Linked DNA regions of Homo sapiens: all the other regions are linked to region 3. Evidence: promoter capture Hi-C in 16 types of primary human blood cells and fetal thymus (Javierre and others, 2016). All regions are on one chromosome and are shown on one strand. Each heading gives the region's core, a stretch centred on a gene start or on the middle of the fragment in contact. The rest is flanking DNA. Distances are from core to core; before and after follow the strand shown.

What was found. Contacts are between HindIII fragments. The CHiCAGO score rates a contact against its expected background, and 5 or more counts as called.
Region 1: a contact is called between the fragment with the promoter of CYRIB here and the fragment with the promoter of NSMCE2 in region 3, in 1 of 17 cell types (total B cells). The highest score is 5.5, in total B cells.
Region 2: a fragment that was not itself captured here is called in contact with the fragment with the promoter of NSMCE2 in region 3 in 1 of 17 cell types (neutrophils); the score reaches 5.1 in neutrophils.
Region 4: a contact is called between a fragment that was not itself captured here and the fragment with the promoter of NSMCE2 in region 3, in 1 of 17 cell types (neutrophils). The highest score is 5.6, in neutrophils.

What each region holds. Positions count from the first base shown.
Region 1 is chr8:130,014,521-130,020,591 of GRCh38, forward strand. CYRIB (CYFIP related Rac1 interactor B) reads right to left here and starts at 2,040. Exons shown (of 14, transcript NM_001353258.2): 1 at 1,850-2,040. RefSeq lists silencers at 1,333-1,602, 1,793-1,982, 2,073-2,142, 2,193-2,252. The HindIII fragment of the contact is 5,812 bases long and covers 1-3,643 here.
Region 2 is chr8:129,975,901-129,981,881 of GRCh38, forward strand. All of the region lies in intron 1 of CYRIB (CYFIP related Rac1 interactor B), which reads right to left. Among named protein-coding and RNA genes, the nearest start is that of MIR5194, 30 kb to the right of the region's middle. The HindIII fragment of the contact is 7,355 bases long and covers 1-5,855 here.
Region 3 is chr8:125,090,452-125,096,207 of GRCh38, forward strand. It overlaps NSMCE2 (NSE2 SUMO ligase component of SMC5/6 complex), which reads left to right and starts at 1,409. Exons shown (of 8, transcript NM_173685.4): 1 at 1,409-1,507. It overlaps WASHC5 (WASH complex subunit 5), which reads right to left and starts at 1,341. Exons shown (of 29, transcript NM_014846.4): 1 at 1,164-1,341. RefSeq lists a silencer at 1,061-1,230 and an enhancer at 1,281-1,500. The HindIII fragment of the contact is 6,790 bases long and covers 1-5,756 here.
Region 4 is chr8:129,951,294-129,957,552 of GRCh38, forward strand. The region is part of intron 2 of CYRIB (CYFIP related Rac1 interactor B); the gene reads right to left. Among named protein-coding and RNA genes, the nearest start is that of MIR5194, 54 kb to the right of the region's middle. The HindIII fragment of the contact is 1,119 bases long and covers 1,614-2,732 here.

The DNA.
Region 1 (6,071 bases), core at 790-3,289, 4.9 Mb after region 3:
AGCACTTACGGGGGTCGGGAGTTGGGGGACCCACATAGCTAAGGATCCTAAGAGAGGCACACAGAAGACTTTGGGAGCTGAGAAAGGAGAAGGGGTGGCTGTCAGAGACAGCAAAATTACTTGAAAATCTCCCAAAGTGAAGGGCAGAAACATATATTGGCCTTTATCTGAAAACCATTTCCAAGTCTCCCTGTGCTGGAACCCACTTCAGCCTCCTGCATCACACACTCTGCCCTTCTCCGTGCTGTGAGCCCAGCAAGGATCTAGAGTGCAAATTCCAATGTGCCTCCTCAGGAAGAAAACTCAGGCCAGCTGACCACTTCTGCATGCCGACCAAGGTAGAAAAGTCACCTCTTCCGGGCTTCCCCCACATTACAGGAACCCCAGGCCTGGGAAACCATCCCAGACGTCAGCCCTGGCTCAGTCTTGGCTGTTGGCCTCAGCCAGTCACCTGGCGGTGGCAATCAAAATGACGCCTTCTTTTTATTTTTCCCCCAGTGCAATCTTCCAAGAATGGGAGAGTCTCAAAGTCAGAGTTTAAGCCCTTTTTCACAAGGGAGTCAGTATTTTCACAAGATGGTCTTCCTCAGAGAGGGGAGGAGTCCATCCAACCCAGATAGCAAAATTGCTCCCTGGAGATCCTGGATGGATGTTACAGGGCAAGGAAGCCAAAATGTGGAAGCACACCGACTCACCTCTCAAAATTCACCACCCACTCGTTCATCTCACAATTATCTATGGGGTGCTTCCCACGTGCTTCAACGCACCCTTTCTAGGTGCTGGGGATGCAGAAATTCAAGGTGACTGGCAATGACACTTTCTATCACTGCGCCCCCTGCAGGCCAGGAAATCTACGCTCGTTTTCTCAAGGCCCCACTCGCAGCAGCCCATTTCACAGACGGGACCCTAAGACTCAGAGAGGGTAAGCGACTTGCCCAAGGTCACACAGCTAGTAAGCGGCAGGGCCAGGAATTAAACATAGCTGCAAAGTGCATGTGACACTCCCCCGCAGCCCCAGCTCTATCCCTCCGCACCCCTCCACCTCTTGCAGCAGGGTGGGTAGCAAAGGCACACTCCAAGTAGCTCCAGCATGGTAAGACCTCGATTCCTCCTTCGTTCCACTCCTGACACAGGACACACGTTTCAAAGGACACACAGGTTTTTCCCAACCCCAGTGTGTGTGTACACAGCCCCAGGAAAGCCCTGCAGGCTGCAAGGGCACCCACCCGCTAACACTGAACTTCCATTTAAAAAGAAAGATAATGAAAAGATAAAAGGCGAAGAGGAAGTGCTCTTTAAACACAGGCGGGTGGCTACCCCAGGAGGAAGTCTTGAGGCCAGTGGAGATTTTGTTCACCCCCTCTAGTTCCTCAAATCCAATGCGACTGGTCTTCCAAGCCCCTGATGGGAGGTGGCCGGGGGCCAGCGCTGCTCCCGGGGTCAGTCCCCGCACCGACACCCGGCTCGCAGGAAGGGTCTGCCAGGGACCAGCCACCCCGACCCGAGCGCCCCCTGCCTCGAGGCGCACAAGGCGCCGGCTCCGCAGCTGGGTGGACCCGGGCGGCGGCCCCGCTGCGCGCTCCCCTCGCGTCCGCCCGCCGCCCCCCGCGCACTCGAGGCGCCTCCCCCGGGACCCCCGCGCCCGCCGGCCCGGACGCCCCCACCACGGCGGCGCCCCCTGTCCACCCGCCGCAGCGCCCGGCCCGGCGGCCCGGATGGTACCTCCGCCTCTCCCCGCACCCATCACGCGCGCGCCCCGCACCCCGCGCCCTCTCCGGGGGCAAATCGGATCCAGGGGCGCGCGCGCGGGCCGGCCGGGCGGCGGCGCCTTCAGAGCCCCGGCACGTACCTGGCGGCCCGGGCGGGCGAGGGGAGCGCGGCGCGGGAGCGCAGGAGCCTCGGAGCCTCCGGTGCCGCCGCCGCCGCCGTTTCCGGGTTGGCGGGGCTCACGTCACCGCCACAGGTTTGCGAGCTGCCCCCGCCGCGGCGGCAGCAGCAGCAGCAGCAGCAGCCCGGGCGAGTGCCAGGCGAGAAATAACTATAAAAGGAAGAGGCGCGGCGAGGAGGAAGAGGAAGCGCTGTTTACCTTCGAGAAGCCGAGCCGCCGGCGCTCGCACAAAAGGAGGACGCTCGCCTCGCGACGCGCCTCCCCCCGCGCCCAGTCCCCGCCGCATCGCGGGGCCCCGGCGTCAGCGCGCGCCGCGCCCCGGGACCGCCCCGCGCCGGCCCCCACCCCAGAACCCCGCGCCCGCCTGGCCCGTGTCCTCCCGAGCCGGGGCGCCACGGGCCCGGGACGGTGGTGACCTTGGGCAAGTCACCGCGGGGCGCGCTGCGATTGGGGGTCATCGCCCTCATTGTGCGAGGAGGAAACCCGGCTCCGAGAGGCGCAAGAGTGACCCCCAAGGTCACTGCCTGTCAGGCAGGGCTTGGGCTCGAACCCCGGTCTCCAGACCTTCAGGCCGGCCAGGTTCCCATCCCTGGGTCGCTTCCCCCTCACCTGGACTTCAGGAATGGTGACAGCCCCTGCCTGGCTCACCTCGCAGCGGGGTCAGTGAGAGGAATGCTGTCCACGCACCCATTCAGCCCTCCCGCAGATACTTACTGGGCCTACTAAGTGCCCGGGCTGTTCTAGGCCCTGGAGCTGCAGCTGCGAACCAAAACAAAATCCCTGCCCGGGAGGGGCAGCGGGGACAGGCCGTAAATATCTGATGGGTCCTATGGTGCTAAGTGCTGTGCCAGAGGAAAAATAAAGCGGGGTGAGGGGACGGTGCGGGCTGTCGGTGCTACCCTAAGCGGTTCTCCAAGGACTTTAAATTTAGTACAGAAATTCCCACATAAAAAGCTCCTCGCCATAATTCCAGTTTCAGGTATTATGGGAGACCTCATCTTTCCCCTGATCTAGAATGGAAAATACTGTGTTTTTCTCCCTGTAACAGGACATGCCTAGGAAACTGATACTCTCCTTCCCTCTGCCTTGCTCCCCTGGCCCAGAAGCCCATCCTATCATTATCTTGACATTCAACCAGAAATTTCTCGGGAAGATAGACAACATTCTCTCAAGTATCTTTCTGCTGTCCTCTAGCAGGGTATCAAAAGGGTTACATCAAAGGCTTCCATTGTCTTTCCACCTCCACCTCCAGCTATAGGGGGGTTGGAGTGTGCTCACATCATACTCAGTGCTGAGTTACCTGATTAGGAGCCAGTTGTTCCATTTCTTTTCTTTTTTCTTTCTTTTTTTTTTTTTTGTCTAAGACAGGATTTTGCTCTGTTTCCCAGGCTAGGTAGCGCAGTGATGCGATAGCTCACTGCAGCCTCAAATTCCTGGGCTCAAGCGATCCTCCCACCTCAGCCTCCCGAGTTGCTGGGACCACGGGTATGCACCACCATGCTCAGCTAATTTTTATAGATTTTTGTAGAGGTGGGTCTCCCTGTGTTGCCCTGGCTGGCCTGTTTCTCCTGGGCTCAAGGGATCCTCCCTGCCTCCGCCTCCCAAAGTGTGGGGATTACAGGCATAAACCACCACACCCAGCCCGCCAATTCTTTAACAAAGGTGCCTTGCGCCTTCTCTTGGCCAGGCCCAGTTCTCGGAGCTGGGGACCCTGAGATGGTGCCATTTCAGCAGTACTCCCTGGACTGCTCTCTAAGCTTACCCGAGCGCCAGTGCCTTCATTCCTAAAGGAAGGGAACTAATGTCCACCTTGCTGTGGGGGCTGAGAAGTAGGTGGGGAAACACTGGGTCCTGAACTATGACCTTGAGGAGAAGCAGGAAAAGGGTTTGGAAGCAGGCAGAGCTGAGCCGCTTATAAAATGAGCATTAACAATTCTGAACATTTATAAAGTACTAAGCAGGTGCCAAGTGTGTGCAGGCCCATGAAGCAGGTTTATCATGGCCCAGTGTCATGCATTAAGATACTGCAGCTGGAAGAGAGATGAGATTTGCCCAAGATCACACAGATTAGACAGCGGTGGAGCTGGGTATGTACCTAGATTGTCTGACTCCAGAGCCCAAGCACTTAGCCACTCTCAGCCTCAGTTTGTTCATCTGTGAAATGGAATGGATAATAATGACTTCGTTAGGTTATGGTGAGGGTTAAATGAAATAGCGAATATATAGAACCTAATATGGATAGGACCCAGGAGAAAGCAATCACCATTGTTGTTACTATTATCATAACTGTTACAATTTACCTTTTTTTTTTTTTTTTTTTTTGAGGCAGGGTCTCACTTTGTCACCCAGGCTGGAATGCGGTGGCGCAATTTTGGCTCACTGCAATCTCTGCCTCCCGGGTTCAAGCAATTCTCATGCCTCAGCCTCCCAAGTAGCTGGGATTACAGATGTGCACCACCACGCCTGGCTCATTTTTGTATTTTTAGTAGAGGTGGAGTTTCACCATGTTGGCCAGGCTGGTCTCGAACTCCCAACCTCAGGCGGTCCGCCCACCTCAGCCTCCCAAAAACCGCACCCAGCCTAATTTTTGTATTGTTCTGTGATGACAAGATTTTGCCATGTTGCCCAGGCTGGTCTCAAACTCCTGAACTCAAGCGTTCCACCCGCCTCAGCCTCCCAAAGTGCTAGGATTACAGGCTCAAGCCACTGCGCCTGGCCTACCATAATAATTGTTAAAGGCATGAGGTAAGGAACTTTCAGGCAAGCTTGGGATCTGTAAATAGTTTGATGTGAGCGTAACATGGAATGCAAATTTGGGGGTCCAGGAAGCAGGGAAGAATAGATGAAGGTGAGGGCAGGGCTTGGATGCCTGCTAGCCTGCACTCTACTGAATTCTGAAATATGTGGGATGGAGAGTCTAACTCTGATGTGTGTGTCTCAGAGGAGAAAGTCTCCATTCACTGGATACAGTGAGGCTGAGAGCATGAGCCTAGGCTCACTCTGATCCTGATAGGTTTGACCAATTCAAGCCATTGGGAACCTGGGAATAATACCCGGGGAAACCTCTGGCAATTCTGTAGTGACTGCTCTGTTTCCCCGGGATGTCAACCCTGACAATGGTAGGCAGAAGTCCAGCATCCTATAGACAGCACTGTCTTTGGAGTTGGGAAAGCCTGCCTGCCATTTTCAGCTGTGCAATTCTGGGCAAGTCATTTAACCTCTGACTTCTTGAATGTTCTTATCTGTAAAGTGGGAATAATAACATTATCTTCTGTTGTTGAGAGGACTATGTAAGAAAATGAGTTTTTCATGCTTTATAACTGGAAAGCAGCATGCACATTTTACTTTCAACATTAGAATCTGGTGCTTTCATTGGCCAAGCAAAGAATCTTGAAAAACCAAGATTTTAAAAATTAAAAATTAAAAAAGAAGGCTGTGCTTTCATAGCACATGTGGTCCACACAGCTTTCAAGCAAAAAAAAAAAAATAGCTATTTCCTTCATATATGCAAAAGTCCCTCAAAAATATTCCTCCAAAATGCATTTCCCTGCTGAGCATTTGCAAGAGTGCTATTATGTACAAAAGGTAACAGAAGGTAAAGTTGGGAGACACAGAGACTCAGTTTTTGTCCTGCTGTTAGTATTTTGCAATTAAGCCCACTCCACATCCCATCGTGATAAAAGCAAACTCAGCGGCATTAGTCTCCTCACACCTGCTTTTCAGTCTCCTCACACCTCTGGCCATTGGGAACCGAAAGGGAAAACTACGCCCAAGCTCACTAAGGAATGCCGTCCTGGCACTGGAGCACAGCCCTCGGAAGATGCTTCAGAGGCTCAGCTAGCCCCTTTAGGCTGGGAATCCCACTCAGTGAGGTGGAATGACTTCCCGGGACACACAGAGCTAACCCTCAAGTTGGAACAGGGTCTTTACCGGGAGATGCAGAGCCTCGGGCTTCAAAGGCTGATAAGTGATTGTTTCCTGGGGCTGGGAGGAGGGGAGAATGGGGAGTAACTGCTTAATGGATATAGGGCTTCTTTTGGGGGTGACAAAAATATTTTGGAATTAAATCAAGTGTGGTAGTTGCACATTAGTGAATGTACCACATGCCACCCAATTGTTCACTTTAAAATGGTTAGCTATGTGTCATATGAATTTCACCTGAATTTTAGGGAAAGAATAACTT
Region 2 (5,981 bases), core at 928-3,427, 4.9 Mb after region 3:
TCCAAAGCTCCCCAGGTGATTTTCATGTGCAGCTGGGACTGACAAGCACCAGGCTAAGATAACTCATTAGTCAAAGGAAGCCCATGGGAAATCTTATCTGGAAATGAAGAACTCTTGTAATTAAATAAAATAGCAGATGTAAAAGTCCCTAACAGTGCCTGTTACCCAGAAGACAATAAATGTTAATTAAACAAAAAAAAAATTTAAATAATTACTCCTTCCCCTCAGTGGATTCATCTTGTTATTTTATTGGCTTGTTTATCACTTGTTTTTTTTTCTTTACCATGATTCATTCTATCCCTGTTAATAAAATTATAAACTTATGCCTATAATCCTGTTCAATTACAAGAGCTCTGTAATATTTCTAACAACGCTTTATTGCTTTATTTAATAAAACTTTCCCCCAGTACAGTGGCTTATAGCAAATATGCAATAAACATCTGCTATTTATAATAATAATGGATATTCAGAATTACTTTAATTCAGAATTCATGACCGTTTTTCTAAACTAGACTGAAATTTATTTCACATTATTAGGACCAGTTAGCAACAATGTAAAAAATTATTACGGCAATGTTTAACAAACTTAAGAAAACAGACCTTTAAGCAAACCAATTCTTTTTTATAATTTCCTGGGAAAAAACTAAATGCAGTCATTACACAGGTGAACTTATCTCCCATTCAAGGAGGCCTTGCTCAGCTCTTCCCATAGTTACCTGGAGAGGCTAATACTGCAATTAGTTATAAGCGGTTTTTCCTTCCAATTTCTCCCTACGGCTGCCTCTCTGAGCGTGAATTTGGAAGGTGATTCTTAATGTTTACATTACCCCTCAGTTCTGAGAAGCCAAACATTTGTTTGAAAAAAAGAAATAGAATTTCTGAATCAGAAGAAAGAGTTTTTGTGTGTGTGTTTATGTGTTGTTGTTTTTTTTTGTTTTTTGGGGTTTTTTTTTAATTGAGACAAAGAGTCTGGCTCTGTTGCCCAGGCTGGAGTGCAATGGCGCAATCTCTGCTTACTGTAACCTCCGCCTCCTGGGTTCAAGTGATCCTCCTGCCTCAGCCTCCCAAGTAGCTGGGATTACAGGCATGTGCCACCACGCCCAACTAATTTTTCTATTTTTAGTGGAGACGGGGTTTCACCATGTTGGCCAGGCTGGTCTGGAACACCTGACCTCAAGTGATCCACCCACCTCGGCCTCCCAAAGTGCTAGGATTACAGGCGTGAGCCACCGTGCCCAGCCAGAACAAAGAGGTTTCATGAAGGCCATTTCCAAATGTCTTGCCTTGCTGGCACAAACTTCCCCAGTCATCTTTTCTTGTGTTGTGCCAGACAGAGAAGGCATCTAACAGGTATGTGGGAAGCTGGGCCATGTTCAGCTCAAGATTCACACTCGTTCACAGTAGACCTCTGTATGGCTCACACATGAACTCTGCTATGCTTCAGTTCCTAAGGCCATCCAGCTCCCAAAGTCTGCCATGTCATGTTTTAAATAAACTGGACTCGACACCCAGCCAAAAATAATAATGATGTGCACGTCTCTGTATGTAAATGTCAATAATAAGGTACAAAATGATCACACATGGGCCAATTCCCATCCTATACTATTTGGTATTATCACCTAATATTTGTCCTCACTCTTTTTTTTTTTGAGACGGGGTCTCGCTCTGTCACCCAGGCTGGAGTGCAGTGGAGCGATCTCGGCTCACTGCAAACTCCACCTCCCAGGTTCACGCCATTCTCCTGCCTCAGCCTCCCAAGTAGCCGGGACTACAGGCGCCCGCCACCACGCCCGGCTAATTTTTTTGTATTTTTAGTAGAGATGGGGTTTCACCGTGTTAGCCAGGATGGTCTCGATCTCCTGACCTCGTGATCTGCCCGCCTTGGCCTCCCAAAGTGCTGGGATTACAGGCGTGAGCCACTGCTCCCGTCCTGTCCTCACTCTTTCAATGAGATCATAAGCACCTTGAGGGTGGACATCTTGTATTAGCAGTAGTAGAAGTATTAATTTTATTGATTTATTTATTTTTAATAGAATCTTGCTCTGTCACCTAGGCTGGAGTGCAGTGGCACCACCATATCTCACTGTGGCCTCGAACTCCGGGGCTCAACAGATCCTCCTGCCTTAAGCTCCCGAGTAGCTGGGGTACTACTCAGTTGTACAGGCGTGTGCCACCATGCCTAATTTTTTTTTTATTTCATGTAGAGACGAGGTCTTGCTATGTGCCCAGGTCAATCTTGCACTCCTGGCCTTAACAATCCTCCCATCTAGGCTTCCCAAAGCCACAGTGGGCCACCGTGCCCAGTCTAATTGTAGTTTCGATCCTCTTAATTGAATTGTCTATAGTGTGTTATATAGCTAATCAGATTACCTGAATAATAAAACTTCTCTTTCTTATGTTTTCATTTAATATTCGATCAGCCAAGCACTAAATGACTATTGTGAGATGGTTGTGGGGCAGGCTTCACACAAGTGATTCCAATTTGTCTTGGTTGATTTGAACTTGTAGGAAAAACTGCAATGTCTGAAACCTCCACCGTAACAGATTTAGAGAGAATCCCTGGAGACTCAAGCCTCGCGCTGTGGGCACCATCTCCCCAGGCATGTGCCAGGATGATACAGAACAAAAGATGCACCTCAAAAATGAATACATTTGGAGGAATCCTCCCCTGTGCTAGAGTTTTCTAAAGTATCCCTCAATCCATTCAGAACATGTCCTTTTATATTAGCCAGGTTCTCTACCACTCCATCAATGTGTGTTATTATTATTATTTCCCAAGTATGCAGTTCAGAAAAGATGCTAATACACTGGGGTTGGGGGGTGTCCTTTGAAACACATTCCCAGGTGTTTAATTTCCTATTCATAACTAGTGCTAACCAGCTAAGTGCGTGTACACACACACACACGTGCATGCACACGAACACACACACCTTTTTAAAAATATATCAATGTTGGCCGGGTGCGGTGGCTCACGTCTGTAATCCCAGCACTTTGGGAGGCCAAGGCGGGCAGATCACTTGAGGCCAGGAATTCGGGACCAGCCTGGCCAACATAGTGAAACCTCCATCTCGTACTAAAAATACCAAAAAAATTAGCTGGGCGTAGTGGTGTGTGCCTGTAATCCCAGCTACTCAGGAGGCTGAGGCAACAGAATCACTTGAACCTGGGAGGCAGAGGCTGAAGTGAGCGGAGATCGTGACACTGCACTCCAGCCTAGGTGACAGAGCAAGACTCTGTCTCAAAATAAATAAATAAATTAATTAATTAATTAAATAAATAATATATCAATGTTTTACAACCCTAATACCAGGAAAACACAAAGTACTTCTGGTTTTCAGTGCATGTTTACCACCAAGATGCAAATCCCATACACATTTTGGGGTGCCTTGGAAATAACATAACTGATTCTTGGGTCCACTACAAGTTTACAAACATTCTCTGGCTTGGATTTTCTGTCAATAGTAGCATAACATTTTTCTATGCTAACATATGAAGGAATAAAGCCTATTAGAGGTTCTTTTATTCACAAACTGTCTTCTCCGAGACTATAACCTTTTAGGTTGAACCACTATTAGCTGGAAACTTCCTCTGGAAGGATAAGTGAGAACAGCGCCCACAGTGCACCTTTTGCCCAGAACTCGGGCCCAAGATCTGGGGAGATATTGCTATAATACTGGGTCGTTCTCTTTCAAAGATGATAAACAGCAGGAGGGTCTATTAATTATCATTTCCCAGCTGGCCATGGTGGCTCAAGCCTGTAATCCCAGCACTTCGGGAGGCCATGGCAAGCAGATCACCTGAAGTCAGGAGTTTGAAACCAGCCTGGCCAACATGGTGAAACCCAGTCTCTACTAATAATACAAAAAAAAAATTGGCCTGGCATGGTGGCAGGCACCTATAATCCCAGCTATTTGGGAGGCTGAGGCAGAAGAATTGCTTGAAGCCAGGAGGCGGAGGGTGCAATGAGCCGAGATCACGCCATTGCACTCCAACCTGGATGACAAGAGCAAGACTCCACCTCAAAAAATAAAATAAAATAAAATAATTATCATTTCCCTTTAAACTCATAAACCCTTAAACATGAACCATCTTCCAGAACCAATTCTGATGCATGATAAAAATAAAAACACAGTTTCTACATTTTGCCTACCACACTCCTGGCATAGGCTGATCACAGCTTAAGACACACATCTTCATTTTTCCACAGTATCATGATCTATTGCTTACATAGTTAAAATTGTTTTTAATGGGCCAGAGAAGGAGGTTGCAGTGAGCCAAGATTGCACCACTGCACTCCAGCCCGGGCAACAGAGCAAGACTCCATCTCAAAAAAAAAAAAAAAAAAAGAAAAGAAAAAAGAAAAAAAGCTGTAGTACTTGCAGCTCTATGTCCAAGTGACAAATCTGCCTTCCAGAAATCTGATTTTTGCGGTGGGGGAGGACAACTACATAGCGTGGTGCTTAACATGTTGATAAATGTTCAAAAGAAGTTTTTTGATGCTTTAGGCCAATCATCTGTTTAAACCAATAACATTAATTATTACTGTGTATTTTAATACGCAGTCTTGTTTTTCAAGAAGTCCAGTTCAGCACACCATTGATTTAATAAACAATATGCGCTGGGCGTGGTGGCTCACGCCTGTAATCCCAGGTACTCGGGAGGCTGAGGCAGGAGAATCACTTGAACCTGGGAGGCGGAGGTTGCAGTGAGCCAAGATTGTGCCACTGCACTCCAGCCTGGGCCACGGAGTGAGACTCTGTCTCAAGAAAAAGAAAAAGAAAAAAAAAACCATACTATGAGGTCAGGCACAGTGGCTCACGCCTGTAACCCCAGCACTTTGGGAGGCCAAGGCAAAAGAATCGGTTGAGCTCAGGAGGTCAAGACGAGGCTGGGCAACATAGTGAAATCCCATCTCCACCAAAAATACAAAAAAATTAGCTGGTCGTGGTGGTGCACACCTGTGGTTCCAGCTACTCGGGAGGCTGAGGTGGGAGGATCGCTTCAGCCTGAGGGGTGGAGGCTGCAGTGAGCAGAGGTGGCATCACTGCACTCCAGCCTGTGTAACAGAGTGAGACACTATCTCAAAAAAAAAAACACACACACTCACAAGACAAACAACAAAACAACATAATATGAAGATGGGAAGAAGACAGAGGAGGAAGGAAACGAACTATGGTGTACTGAAAAGCCAGATCCCAATACCATCTCAGTTAAACTGAGAGACAGAGTTAGCCCCCCATTCCCCACCTTTTTTTTCAAGACAAGGTCTGGCTCTGTCGCTCAGGCTGGAGTGCAGTGGTGCAATCTCGGCTCACTGCAACCTCCACCTCCTGGGCTCAGGCCATCCTCCCACCTCAGCCTTCAGAATGGCTGGAACTACAGGCACATGCCACCACGCCTTGCTAATTTTTGTTTGTTGGTTGGTTGGTTGGTAAAGATGGGGTTTCGCCATGTCGGCCAGGCTGGTATTGAACTCCTGGACTCAAAAGATCTGCCAACCTCAGCCGCCCGAAGCGCTGTGATTACAGGTGTGAGCCACTGTGCCTGGCTCCAGCCCCACCCTTTTTTAAGTGGAGACATGGACAGGAGCTCACTAATAGATGAGCAAGATAAAAATGATGTTTCTGAAGCAATGGAGAACTGATTATCAAATACTTCCCCAGTGTAAGGATGTATCACTTTTAAAGGTATGTCACTATTTACTTGAAAATGTGACATTTGCAGAGATAGAGAATATTATTTCTGGGTATCTGGTCCAACTCCCTGATTTTATAGGTGAGGGAATCTAAAGTCTGCAAGAAAAGAACACGCCTGGGGCCTGGGAGTGGGATCACAGCAGAGCAGGACCAGGACCAAGCTTCCTGACTGAGCTTCCTCCCATTTCCAAAGCCCTTCACCTGGAGAACTGCTTCCCGGGCTTCAGGTTTCAGTTCAGGGAGCCTGCTGTCCAGACAGGTGCCCCCGCTGGTCCACCCGACCAC
Region 3 (5,756 bases), core at 159-2,658:
CTAGGGATCAAGAACACTTGAAGATCAGTTTTCTCAATACAGGCTATATTATTATTGGCATGAAATCCAGAGATCCCACTATATTTTCTTATTTTCTTTTACAAGTGCCGGTAACTTCATTTTTAATAATTTGGCGTGGAACTGTGATTTTCAGTTTGGGAAGTAATCCTAATCAAAAGACATGCTTTCAAGAATAAGGCATGACATCCTTACACCAATTACCCTGAGTACAGAATAATATTTCTTAAGGAAATCGAATTGTCGTGGACAAACAGTTTACCCTCTTCAGAGGACAAAAGAAGGCAGGTCTATTTTTAGCCTTTCGCAAAACCTCAGTTCCATAAAGGAAGCACTGGTCTCCACAAATCCATTATCACAAACAAAATATAACGGTTGCTGATCAAGATAAATGCAAGCTGCATATATTTTCCAGAAAAGTTCTGAAATGAGGCTGAACCTGAAATCCTGGGAAAGGCAGGTGAAGGACAATTAGAGAAGGTGTCCCTTGTAGTGCACAAAGACAGTAAAACTTCGCCCTCACTACGCCTCACCTATGTTTGAGGGAGCTCCATGCGCTTGCAATCAGGAGACCCAGTTTTATGGCTCTGTGACTTTTTTTCTTTCTCCTGTCCGATCATAATCCTGATTCCGATCCCAGGAATCAGGGCCCTGGGAACTTTTTTTTTTTCCCCCAAATGCAAAGGATTTTGACATCAGTATGTCACAGGTGAAGGCATTAAGGCGCGGCGAGCAGCAATGACTTGCCCAAACTCACAGCCCATGGCATAACTAGAATGCAAATCCACGTCTGTCAGCCTGTAAAAGTCCTCACTACTAGCCTTTCAGTTTTCTCAAAAGCAAAGAGAAATAACGACGACATCCATACAGCAGTGTTCCCGGAAACTTGGAAGGATGAGATTCGGACCAAGCAGCTGAACGGTGCTTCCTAAAGCGAGGAAGGGGTGTGCAAAATGATTTCCCCCTAAGCGGAGACGAAGAGCTGGATTACAGCCCCCGCCCCAGAAAGCCCCTAAGCCCTCCATCCCGAGTCCCCCATCCAGGCTGCACGCGACTCTGCAGACCTCCCCGTGGCCAGCGCGGCCCAGCGGGGAGGGGAAGGGGGCCATGCAAAAATGGGGCGCGCTCACTCCATCCCCACTCACCTGTCAGCCGGGCCGCGCCACGGCGCACGCGCAGGGCCGGAGGTCGCGCGCGGAGCCGGCACCCAGTTTCCACCCCTCCCTCAAGGCGGCGGTCCTCTTCTATCCGCAGTCCCGGACCTGGAGCGGGTCAGACCCCGACTTCCGCCCCTGACTCCCCAGGCGGTCACATGACCGAAGCGGCTGGGAGCAGGGAGGGGCATCATGTGACCACTCGCCGGCGACGGCTGATGACGCAAGAGCCCGCTCTCACTTTTCAGCGGCAGGCGAAGGGGGCTGAGGAAAGGAGGTGGGTCTAGGCAGGGGAAATTGGGGTGCCACCAGACGGAGACAGCTTGGACTACCAGGTAGGGAAGAAGCGGGGGACGGCAATGGGGAGGGTGGCAGGAGTTTCGCCACCCTCAGGGACACTCCACGGGGACTCCGAGCCGGGGGTCCGTCTACCCGGATTATGGTTGTGGAACTTTTCACGCCACGGTAGTGAGTCTGGGACAGTTTACCCTCCTGTCCGAGACGCCATCTCTCCATCCTTTCGCCTCAAGTGTGTAGGGGCAAGATTACGAATTTTTGATCCAAATAGATTTTGTTTGAACTGACTTTAAAAGTAAGGCCACGGGAAGGTCGTTTGAATAAACTCTCTGGACCTCAATTTCCTCTTCAGTTATGTAGATTGCAGTGAGAATTAGCGATAAGGAGAATAAAGTGCCGGGACACCAGTTTATGGCATTCTGTAGGTGACCGAGAAATGATGATGTCTGTTGTTATTTTTGTAACTGGCCAAATCTTTATTGGTCCCCTATTTTGTGTGAGGAATTGCTTTATATGCAATAGAATATGTCAGGGTTCTAGTTTAAGGAGGTGTCAGTTTAAAGAAGCTGCAGACATGTGAGCAAATAGTTGTGATGAGTTTCATAATAGGAGTGTGTTGTGTACATGTGCATGTGATAGGGATAATGGTAGCATGAGGGAGGGAAAAGCAATTGTATGAGAAGGATTCAGAGAGAAGGGATTATCCTTGCATGTTGAAAAAGGAGAGGCAGCTCTGGCTGACTTGTACAAGGCTCCCATGGATTTAAAGGAAGTCAACATATTGTCTATAAATAACATGCAGAGAAAAAACTCAGGAAATGCACAACTTGTTCTAAACTTTCTTGGAGATCATAGGTACCGGGAAGAAAAAGATCAGTGTTATTACCTGGGGAGGGATCCAAGAGAGATTGATTTAAACCAGTTATTCTCAACTGATGCACTATTGACATTTTAGGCCAGATAATTTTTTGCTGTGGGGTCAGGGTGAGGGCTGTCCTGTGTTTTGTAGGATGCTTAAGAGCATCCCTGGCCTCTGCCCGCTAGATGCCAACCACAAAGTCTACAGATACTGCTAAATGTCCCCTTGCGAGAGGGGTAAAATCCTTCTTGGTTGAGAACCACTTAAACCAAGCCATGAAAGATGGTATCTTAGTCAATGTGGGCTTCTGTAACGGAAATGCCATAAACTAGGTAGCTTATGAACAACAGAAATTTATTTCTCACAGTTCCGGGGCCTGTTTCCTGGTTCATAGGTGGCTTCTTGCTGTGTCCTCACATGGTGGAATGGCAAAGCAGCTATCTGGAGCATCTTTTAAAAGGGCACTAATCTTATTCATGAAAGTGGGCCTCATCACCTCCCAAGAGGCCCCACCTCCTAATACCATCACCTTGGAAGTTAGGATTTCAACATATACATTTTGGGTGACACAAACATTCAGACTTTAGCATATGGGTAAGATGTGGGCAGATAGAAAACTGAAGAGAGGCCCTGGCACAGTGGCTTATGCCTGTAATCCCAGCACTTTGGGAGGCCAAGGCGGGCGGATCACTTGAGGTCGGGTGTTTGAGACCAGCCTGGTCAACATAGCGAAACCCTCTCTCTACTAAAAATACAATAAATAAATAAATAAATAAATAAGTAAATAAATAACATAATTGGTGTGTCCTGGCACACACCTGTAATCCCAGCTACTCGGGAGGCTGAGGCAGGAGAATCCCTTGAACCCAGGAAGCAGAGGTTGAGGTGAGCCGAGATCATGCCACTGCACTCCAGTTTGGGCGACAGAGCGAAACTCTGTCTCAAAAAATAAATAAATAAATAGAAAGAAAACTGAAGAGAAGGTTTTCTCATGGTGGGAGCAGGATGAGGAAAAGTCCTCTTTTTCCTTTTTGGTGACAGCGTCTCACTCTTATCGTCCAGGCTAGAATGCAGTAGCATGATCATAGCTCACTGCAGCCTTGGACTCCTGGACCCAAGGAGTCCTCCCACCTCAGCCTTCCGAGGGTCTAGGACAATAGGTGCAAGCCACTATGTCTGTGTAAGTTTAAATTTTTTTTTTTTTTGTAGAGTTGGGGTCTTGCTGTGTTGCCCAGGCTGGTCTTAAACTCCTGGCCTCAAGCAATCTTCCTGCCTTGCCCTTTCAAAGTGCTGGGATTATAGGCATGAGCCACCACACCCAGCCTGAACAAAGTCTGGAGCTGAGATTAAGAATATTGGGTATGAAGGGGAGAAGGAAACAGGAGAGCTATGAATCTGACTGAAGCAGACAGTTAATTTATTCATTTATTGACTATTTTCAGAGCACTTGCTGTTTGTGAAGCACTGCTAACATCTTGCAAGATAGTCACTAACAAAGTGGAGTGACTATAATTATAATTATATCAAAGAAGGTGCTGTTAGAGTCAGAGAAAGGAGTTGTCTTTGACTTGTACTTAGCTGTATTTATTGGGAGAGATTGAGAAAAGTATGTCTGTTCCATCTTTCTGCACCATCCATTGCCTTTGCTTTTCAATTCAATCTCAGTCTTAATCTTTTCCCTACTCCAGAATTACAGAAGAGCATGATCGTGTTTTCCTTGGTCCTCTGCAAAAGTGAAGTTTCACTAAAGTAATGTGAGTTTTGCATTCAAACAAATAGTGACAGCTACTGTTTGGTAGATACTTTCCATTTATACTGGATTGCATTAATCTTCATAGATACTGTGTCTTTGTTCAAGCTACCATAACAAAATACCATAGACTGGGTGGCTTAAACAACAGAAATTTATTTCTTACAGTTCTGGAGGCCAGAAGTTCAAGGTGAGGTTGCCAGCATAGTTGGATTCTGGTGAGGACTTTCTTCTTGGCTTGTAGATGGCTGCCCTTTTTATGTGTCTTCACATGGTAGGGAGAGAGAGAGAGAGCAGTCCCTGGCGTCTCTTCCTTTTCTTTTCTTTTCTCTTTTTTTTGAGAAAAGAGGGTCTCGCTCTGTTGCCCAGGCTGGAGTGCAGTGGCGTGATCATGGCTTACTGCAACCTCAACCTCCCGGCTCAAGCGATCCTACCACATCTCCTCCTGAGGAGCTGGGGCTGCAGGCCCGCACCACCACATCCAGCTAATTTTTTATTTTCTGTAAAGACAGAGTCTCACTTTATTGCCTGGGCTGGTCTCGAACTCCTGGGCTCAAGCCAACCTCCCACATTGGCCTCCCAAAGTGCTGGGATTATAGGCATGAGCCACCTTTCCAGCCAGGTTTTAGATAATCAGTACACATGTGCCTAGTGCCTATCATATTGGACAGTGCAGATTATAGAACGTTTTCATCACAGAAAGTTCTATTGGACAATGCTGCTCTGGACAATTTAGACTTACACTAGAATCAAGACTGAGTAGAAAACAGAATACTTCTGCTGATCATGGTGTCTCATGCCTATAATCCCAGCACTTGAGAGGCCGAGTTGGGAGGATCACTTGAGCTCAGGAGTTTGAGACCAGCTTGGGCAACACAGGGAGATGGTCGTCTCTACTAAAAATTAAAAAAGAAAAATTGGCCAAGTGGTGGCGCGCGCCTGTGGTCCCAGCTACTTGAGAGGCTAATGTGGGAGAATCACATGAGCCTGGGAGGTTGAGGCTGTAGCGAGCATGATCATGTCACTGCACTCCAGCCTGGGTGACAGAACAAGACCCTGTCTCAAAAACAAAAAGAAAACCGAGGCCAGGGGCAGTGGCTCACGCCTGTAATCCTAGCACTTTGGGAGGCCGAGGCCGGTGGATCACTTGAGGTCAGGAGTTTGAGACCAGCCTGGCAAACATAGTGAAACCCCGTCTCTACTAAAAATACAAAAATTAGCCTGGCATGTAGCTCCCAGCTACTGGGGAGGCTGAGGCAAGAGAATTGCATGAACCTGGGAGGCGTAGGTTGCAGTGAGCCAAGGTAGTGCCACTGCACTCCAGCCTGAGGGACAAGAGCAAAACTCCATCTCAAAAAAAAAAAAAAAAAAAGAAAAGAAAATTGAATACTGGAATTATATCATTTGGTCCTTGCAGGTTTGTGTTTTTTGATTAATACTTAGTACTGTAACAGGTAAACCCCACAAGTCTAAATGGCTTTGCCCAGTTGAAGTTTCTTTCATGCATGGAGCCTGATAGGTGAGTAGTTTTCCTCCAAGCAGTGATGTAGGGCCTTGAGCTCCTTCCATGCAGTAATTCTCTATCATCAGCATATAGCTTTACTAAGGTCCCTATGCTTGCCTGCATCAAGCTATCAAATGGGAAAATGTGGCTTTTTGCAGATTAGGCCTGGAAATG
Region 4 (6,259 bases), core at 923-3,422, 4.9 Mb after region 3:
ACTCCATCTCAAAAGAAAAACAAAGCAAAAAAATAATAATAAAGTTATATAGTCCTAAGGTTCTCAATACATTAAAATCCATCAACCTCAAGGACAACATACAACTGAGGACATAAGAAAATGGTAGAAACGGCCAGTTGCGGTGGCTCATGCCTATAATCCTAACACTTTGGGAGGCCGAGGCGGGCAGATCATGAGGTCAGGAGTTCGAGACCAGCCTGGACAGCATGGTGAAACCCCGTTTCTACTAAAAATACAAAAAATTAGCTGGCCGTGGTGGCACGTGCCTGTAATCCCAGCTACTTAGGAGGCTGAGGCAGGAGAATTGCTTGAACACGGGAGGCAGAGGTTGCAGTGAGCCAAGATTGTGCCACTGCACTCCAGCCTGGGTAACAGAGCGAGACTCCATCTCAAAAAAAAAAAAGAAAGAAAATGGTAGAAACACAAGAAACTATTTTATAAATTAATATTCCCAATCTTCTTTCACCCTACTCTTTGTTTCCATAACATTTGTCACCTCCTAACATCGTTTGTATTATGTTTATTGTCTTTCTCCATGAACTAGACCTAAGCCCATGACAGTAGGCATTTATGGCTGGTCTGTCCACGAATGTGTCCCCAGCCCCTAGAACAATGTCTGGCATATAGTAGGAGCTCAGTTAGCATTCATTGAATTTAAAAATGTGAATATTAAGTTAAAAGAACAAAGTACAAAACTACATATATCATAAAATGCAAAAATTACCTTTTGTTTTTGTTTATTTTTTTTGAGACAGAGCTTCGCTCTTGTTGCCCAGGCTGAAGTGCAATGGTGCAATCTCGGCTTACCGCAACCTCCACCTCCCAGGTTCAAGCGATTCTCCTGCCTCAGCCTCCCTGGTAGCTGGAATTACAGGCATGTGCCACCATGCCCAGCTAATTTTGTATTTTTAGTAGAGATGGGGTTTAGTAGAGATGGGGTTTCTCCATGTTGGTCAGGCTGGTCTCGAACTCCCGACCTCAGGTGATCTGCCCACCTCAGCCTCCCAAAGTGCTGGGATTACAGGCATGAGCCACCACACCCGGCCAAAAATTACATTTATAATTATGTATATTACATGTATATGTATGTATACAATAAATACGTAATAAAGTTATATATAATAGAATGCAAAATTGTATATACAATTAATATAAAATATGTACCCCTATGGAGAAATGGTAGAGAGGATCAGAGAAGGTAAAACTCAATGATAACAAGATGAATGTGGAAGTGAAATAATATTCTTTTTCATTTTTCTTTAACGTTTTGAACCATTTTGTTTGTCCAAAAAGATGGCATTTTAAAAAGGAAGAGTGTGAACAGGAGAAATATGGAAGAGAAGAGGAAGCAGAAGTGGCCAAGGGAGAGAACCTGATGGAGAAAATAAGGAAAGATAGGAGGGGCCAAAGCAAACAGAAGGCTCATGGCTGGTAGTTACTCTATTAATGGAAATAGAATCACACAGGCAGAAAGAAAAGTGAGTAGATAAAGGAAAGACAATTTACCTTGAACTTTTAATTCCAAGCTAATATCTATTAAACTACTCCTAGGTTGATAGAATTTCCCCCCATTAACTGCCTCAATCCACAGAAGCTTTGGTAAATTTTAGCACAAAGGAACACTTGGAACTGTTACGTGTTACTGTTCTTCATTCCGAACCTTCTGTTGATCAGCTGCTTTGGAGGCAAGAAGAAAGAGGCCCACATTCTAAGACTAACTGAATGCCACAGGCATTTTCATTAGCCAACTGATCCATCAAGCATTTCATCTAGGGTCACCTACTTGGGGGACATAGAGTGTAGGAAACAGACTTGTCTTCTAGGGGATGAAAGGCACACTACTTACTCCAATACAAAGCAACGCACAACTGCCAAATAAATGACACGGATGATATATCCTGTAAAATTAAAGGGCTAGAAGAGTTCCTTCCAGCTTGGGAAGGTCAGGGGAGGGTGGCAGGGAGATGTCCAGGGAAGGACTTGTCCTGCACTTTATCCAATAACAGGGACCCTAGTGCTGTTCGTGAGCGGACTCTTGACCCCTTCACCTGGTCCCAACTTGTACTTGAGATCACTTGCTGCTCTTAATGCCTAGAGCCCCCAGGTATTGGCCTGGGTTCCTCATCACAGCCATGCATTTGCCATTTTGAGCAAACCAGGTCAGATCCCCTGTGCACGTGCTCTCAACCTCTGTGCTTCTTGTTTACAGCACACACCATCACTGCAATTGTATGGTTATTGTGTGGTTCCTTAAACACTGTGAGCTCCAGGACGGTAGCGGCCACACTATTTTGTCACCACTGTATCCCCAGTGAGAGCACGGAGCCTGGCACAAGGCGGGCACTCAACAAACAGCTGCAGCTGGTCAAGGAGATGGCATTGGTCCAGCCTGAATCAGCACAGGCCTAGGTTTTAACGCTACTGTGAATCCCCAGCATGGCCACAGAGCTGGAACCAGGGAATCAGATAAGCAAGACAAGGAGGTAAGATTGAACCCTCGCCCAAAATTAGCCTAAATGATCAGGTCACTACTGTGTAACCTAGTATTTGAAATACAGAGATTTAGACAGAATGACAGGAAAAAGTCAAACATAAACTAAAAGTCCGAAAGAGCTTAGGTTCTCACAGTCACTTTTTGAGGCTACAAAAGGAAAGATATTGCATAAACCTTAAAAAAAATGGACCAGTTAAGAAGTGTAACTGGTTTAGCAAGCTTCCCTTCTAAAATCCTGGTGCCGATTTCATGTTAGAACACAGGTTTAATGAGAACGTATCCCTCTCCCCAAGTTGTAATACACAGAAGAGGGCAAAGGGGAGAATGTTACCTTGCCCAAGCTCTGGTCTTATCTCAACCCACAGACTTGGAGAAAATGTCTATAGTCCATTTCAGTATTTACTTAGCTTTTTAATTTTTAATTTTTTTTTTGACACAGACTCTCGCTGTGTCCCCCAGGCTGGAGTGCAATGGTATCATCTTAGCTCACTGCAACTTCCGCTTCCCAGGTTCAAGCGATTCTCCTGCCTCAGCCTCCCGAATAGCTGGGATTACAGGTGCTGGCCACAATGCCCGGCTGATTTTTGTATTTTTAGTAGAGATGGGGTTTCACCATGTTGGCCAGGCTGGTCTCGAACTCCTGATCTCAGGTGATCCACCCACTTCAGTCTCCCAAAGTGCTGGGATTACGTGCTTGAGCCACTGCGCCTGGCCTAGTTTTTTAATTTAATAGGCTGCTTGTACTTATAAGTGCCTGCATCAGAGTTTCTGGATGAAATGAACTAATTTTAGAAATGGGAAAAACTTTGGAATTCACCTTCAATCTAATATTTTTGCTTATGAAAATGCAGGGCCCAAGTGGTTAAGGAACTTGTCTAGGGGCACGATCCCCCAGTCATGAACTCTGGACCCAGGGGGAAGATTAGAGGGATTTATGTCTATACTGTCTTTATTTCCAAAGGTTAGTCTACATCACTGAGGCATCAGTAAAGTCCTGTGAAATATCTATACTAATAAGCAGTGTGCAACATTTGGTATGGTATCTGGTGTGATCTTTCAGGGTAAAAGTAGGTAAATTAATTGCTGTCCTTATTTGGCCCTTACTACACACAACACACAAATCTCTTCCACCATTGCAAAATGTTAGAAGATGTATGTGCTGTGGCCGGACGCGGTGGCTGACACCTGTAATCCCAGCACTCTGAGAAGCTGAGGCAGGCGGATCACTTGAGTTTAGGAGTTTGAAACTAGCCTGGCCAACATGGTGAAGTCCCGTCTCTACTAAAAACACAAAATTAGCTGGGCGTGATGGTGCACACTTGTAGTCCCAGCTACTTGGGAGGCTGAGGCAGGAGAATCACTTGAACCCAGGAGGCGGAGGTTGCAGTGAGCCAAGATCGTGCCACTGCACTCCAGCCTGGGTGACAGAACAAAACTCCGTCTCAAAAAAAAAAAAAAAAAAAAGTATGTGCTGCATGATGAAGAAATAAGTGGAAATGCAGGCTTTCTGAGATTTTCCAGTCACCCATAATAGCAAGGAATGGTATCTTTCTCGGTCACAACACTAAGCTGCTTACAGAGTTCATGTAAATACTGTTTCTTGCTGTTCCACCTCTGCTAGGAACACCTTCCACAACACTCCCACGTTTCCGCACCAAACTCCTACCTACACATCGAGGCTCCCATCAGAAATCTCTACAGACGTCGGAAATCTATAGAGATATTAGATAAGCATTTCAAGGTAACTTATTTCCTCATTTTACCTTATGGTAACAGCCCTATTTACCTCTTACAAGCGTTCTACGGTGTATCAAAAAGACCAACAACAGTAAGAGGTTTGCATAGCACTGTGTATTCCATTGAGAAAAGTGCTACAAAAACACAAGATAGCATTTTATTAATTTATTAAATCTGATTCCTTGAGACACATACAAAGCGGTGTTGATGGATGAACCAACAAACCCAAGATTAATAGCCTGGTTTACTGCACTCTTTTCTCCTTCCAAGCCACAAGCCAAAATAAACTCACCCTCAATTTATAATGTTGCAAAATGTGCTTCTAAGCACCAATGCCTGAATCCACTGTGGTTATTAAAAGGATGGTTGCATCCATCGGGATGGGATAGGTTATGCTGTGGTAACAAAGAACACCTAAATCTCAGCCCTAAGGATGACCACAATGGTCCCTCTGGGGTCAAGAAGGTAAGCCCAGCAGCCCCATCTTTCTCATTTTCACCTGACAATCTGGTTAGCCAACTCTGTGGCTTACATAAGTTTGAAAGATATGACCCTCTCCTTTCCTTCTCCAACCACCTACAAAACTGTCTCGTGGAGCGCAGTGAGAATCAGAAGTGATTATCTTTGTAAAACATCGAGAATGCTGCCTGGCATATAGGTAGCAGCCAGTAAATAATAATGATGGCTACTACCATTGTCACTTCCATTATCCCCACCCCTTCTCAAATAATAATAATAATGATATTATAATTCTCACAGAGCAGTGATTCCTGAACTTAACTTGTCCTGAACATTAGAATCATCTGGAGAGCTTAAAAAAACTAATGCTTGTGTCCCACCCCTAGAGTCTATGAAGTAATTCATCTAGTGTATGACCTTAGGCTTGGGATTTTAAAAGATTGCCAGGTGATTCCAAAGTGTAGACAAGTTTGGAAACCAGCCTCAAGAGGCAGCAAGATTCATATATACACATACATGTCTTTGTGTTTGCACACACACACACACACACACACCTGCTCCCAAGTTCCATGAATCATGCTCCCTGTATGACAGTAGTGGTTATATCACTTAGGGTGAGCTGGGTTATGCTGTGGTAACAGAGCCCCTGAATCTCATCCCTAATGAAAACCAATTGATCACCCCTGCAGGGTCACAATGAGCCCAGAAGCCCTGTTTTTCTGGTCTTTACCTGACAGTTAAGCCTATTCTTTTTTCTTTTTCAGTCTTTACTTGACATTTAAGCCTATTTTTCCTTCCTTCCTTCCTCCCTCCTCCCTCCCTCCCTCCCCCCAGCCTCTCTTTCTTTCTTTCTTTCTTGGCTCTTGCTCTGTCACCCAGGCTGGAGTGCAGTAGCATGACCATGGTTCACTGCAGCCTTGACCTCCAGGGCTCCAGTGATCCTCCCACCTCAGACTCCCAAGTAGCTGGGACTACAGACACACACGACTGTGCCTGGCTGATTTTTGTTCTTTTCTTTTCTATTTTCTTTTTGTGTGTGTAGACACAGGGTCTTGCTGTGTTGCTAGGACTGACCTCAAACTCCTGGGCTCAAGCAATCCTCCCACCACAGCCTCCCTAAATGCTGAGATTACAGGCATGAGCCACTGTGCATGGCCTAAGCCTCTGCATTTTATCCTCAGACCTTTCTCATGTTCTATTTTCTTCTACTTCATACCTTTCCCCAAGTCCAGGTAAAGTTTGCCTGGCCCAGAGTAAATCAGCACCCAAAGATGACACCAATGTGGACAGACTTAGGGGAAATCTGGTTAGAAGAAGGCCACTAAAGGCTATCAGTACTTAAGGCTGTACTTTGCTCAATTCTCTGTCCCCAAGACTTAAAACACAGCACACAATGTGGTAGAAATTTGGATAGTTAAATCAGTTATCATCAGTAATAACCTAGAAGAAAAGCAGACACAAGAACTCAAAAAGCACAGCATCTAAGCTGAAAACCTTATTTATCAACTTGTCACCAACCACCATTTGAATTTCAAATTTTTTTATTGC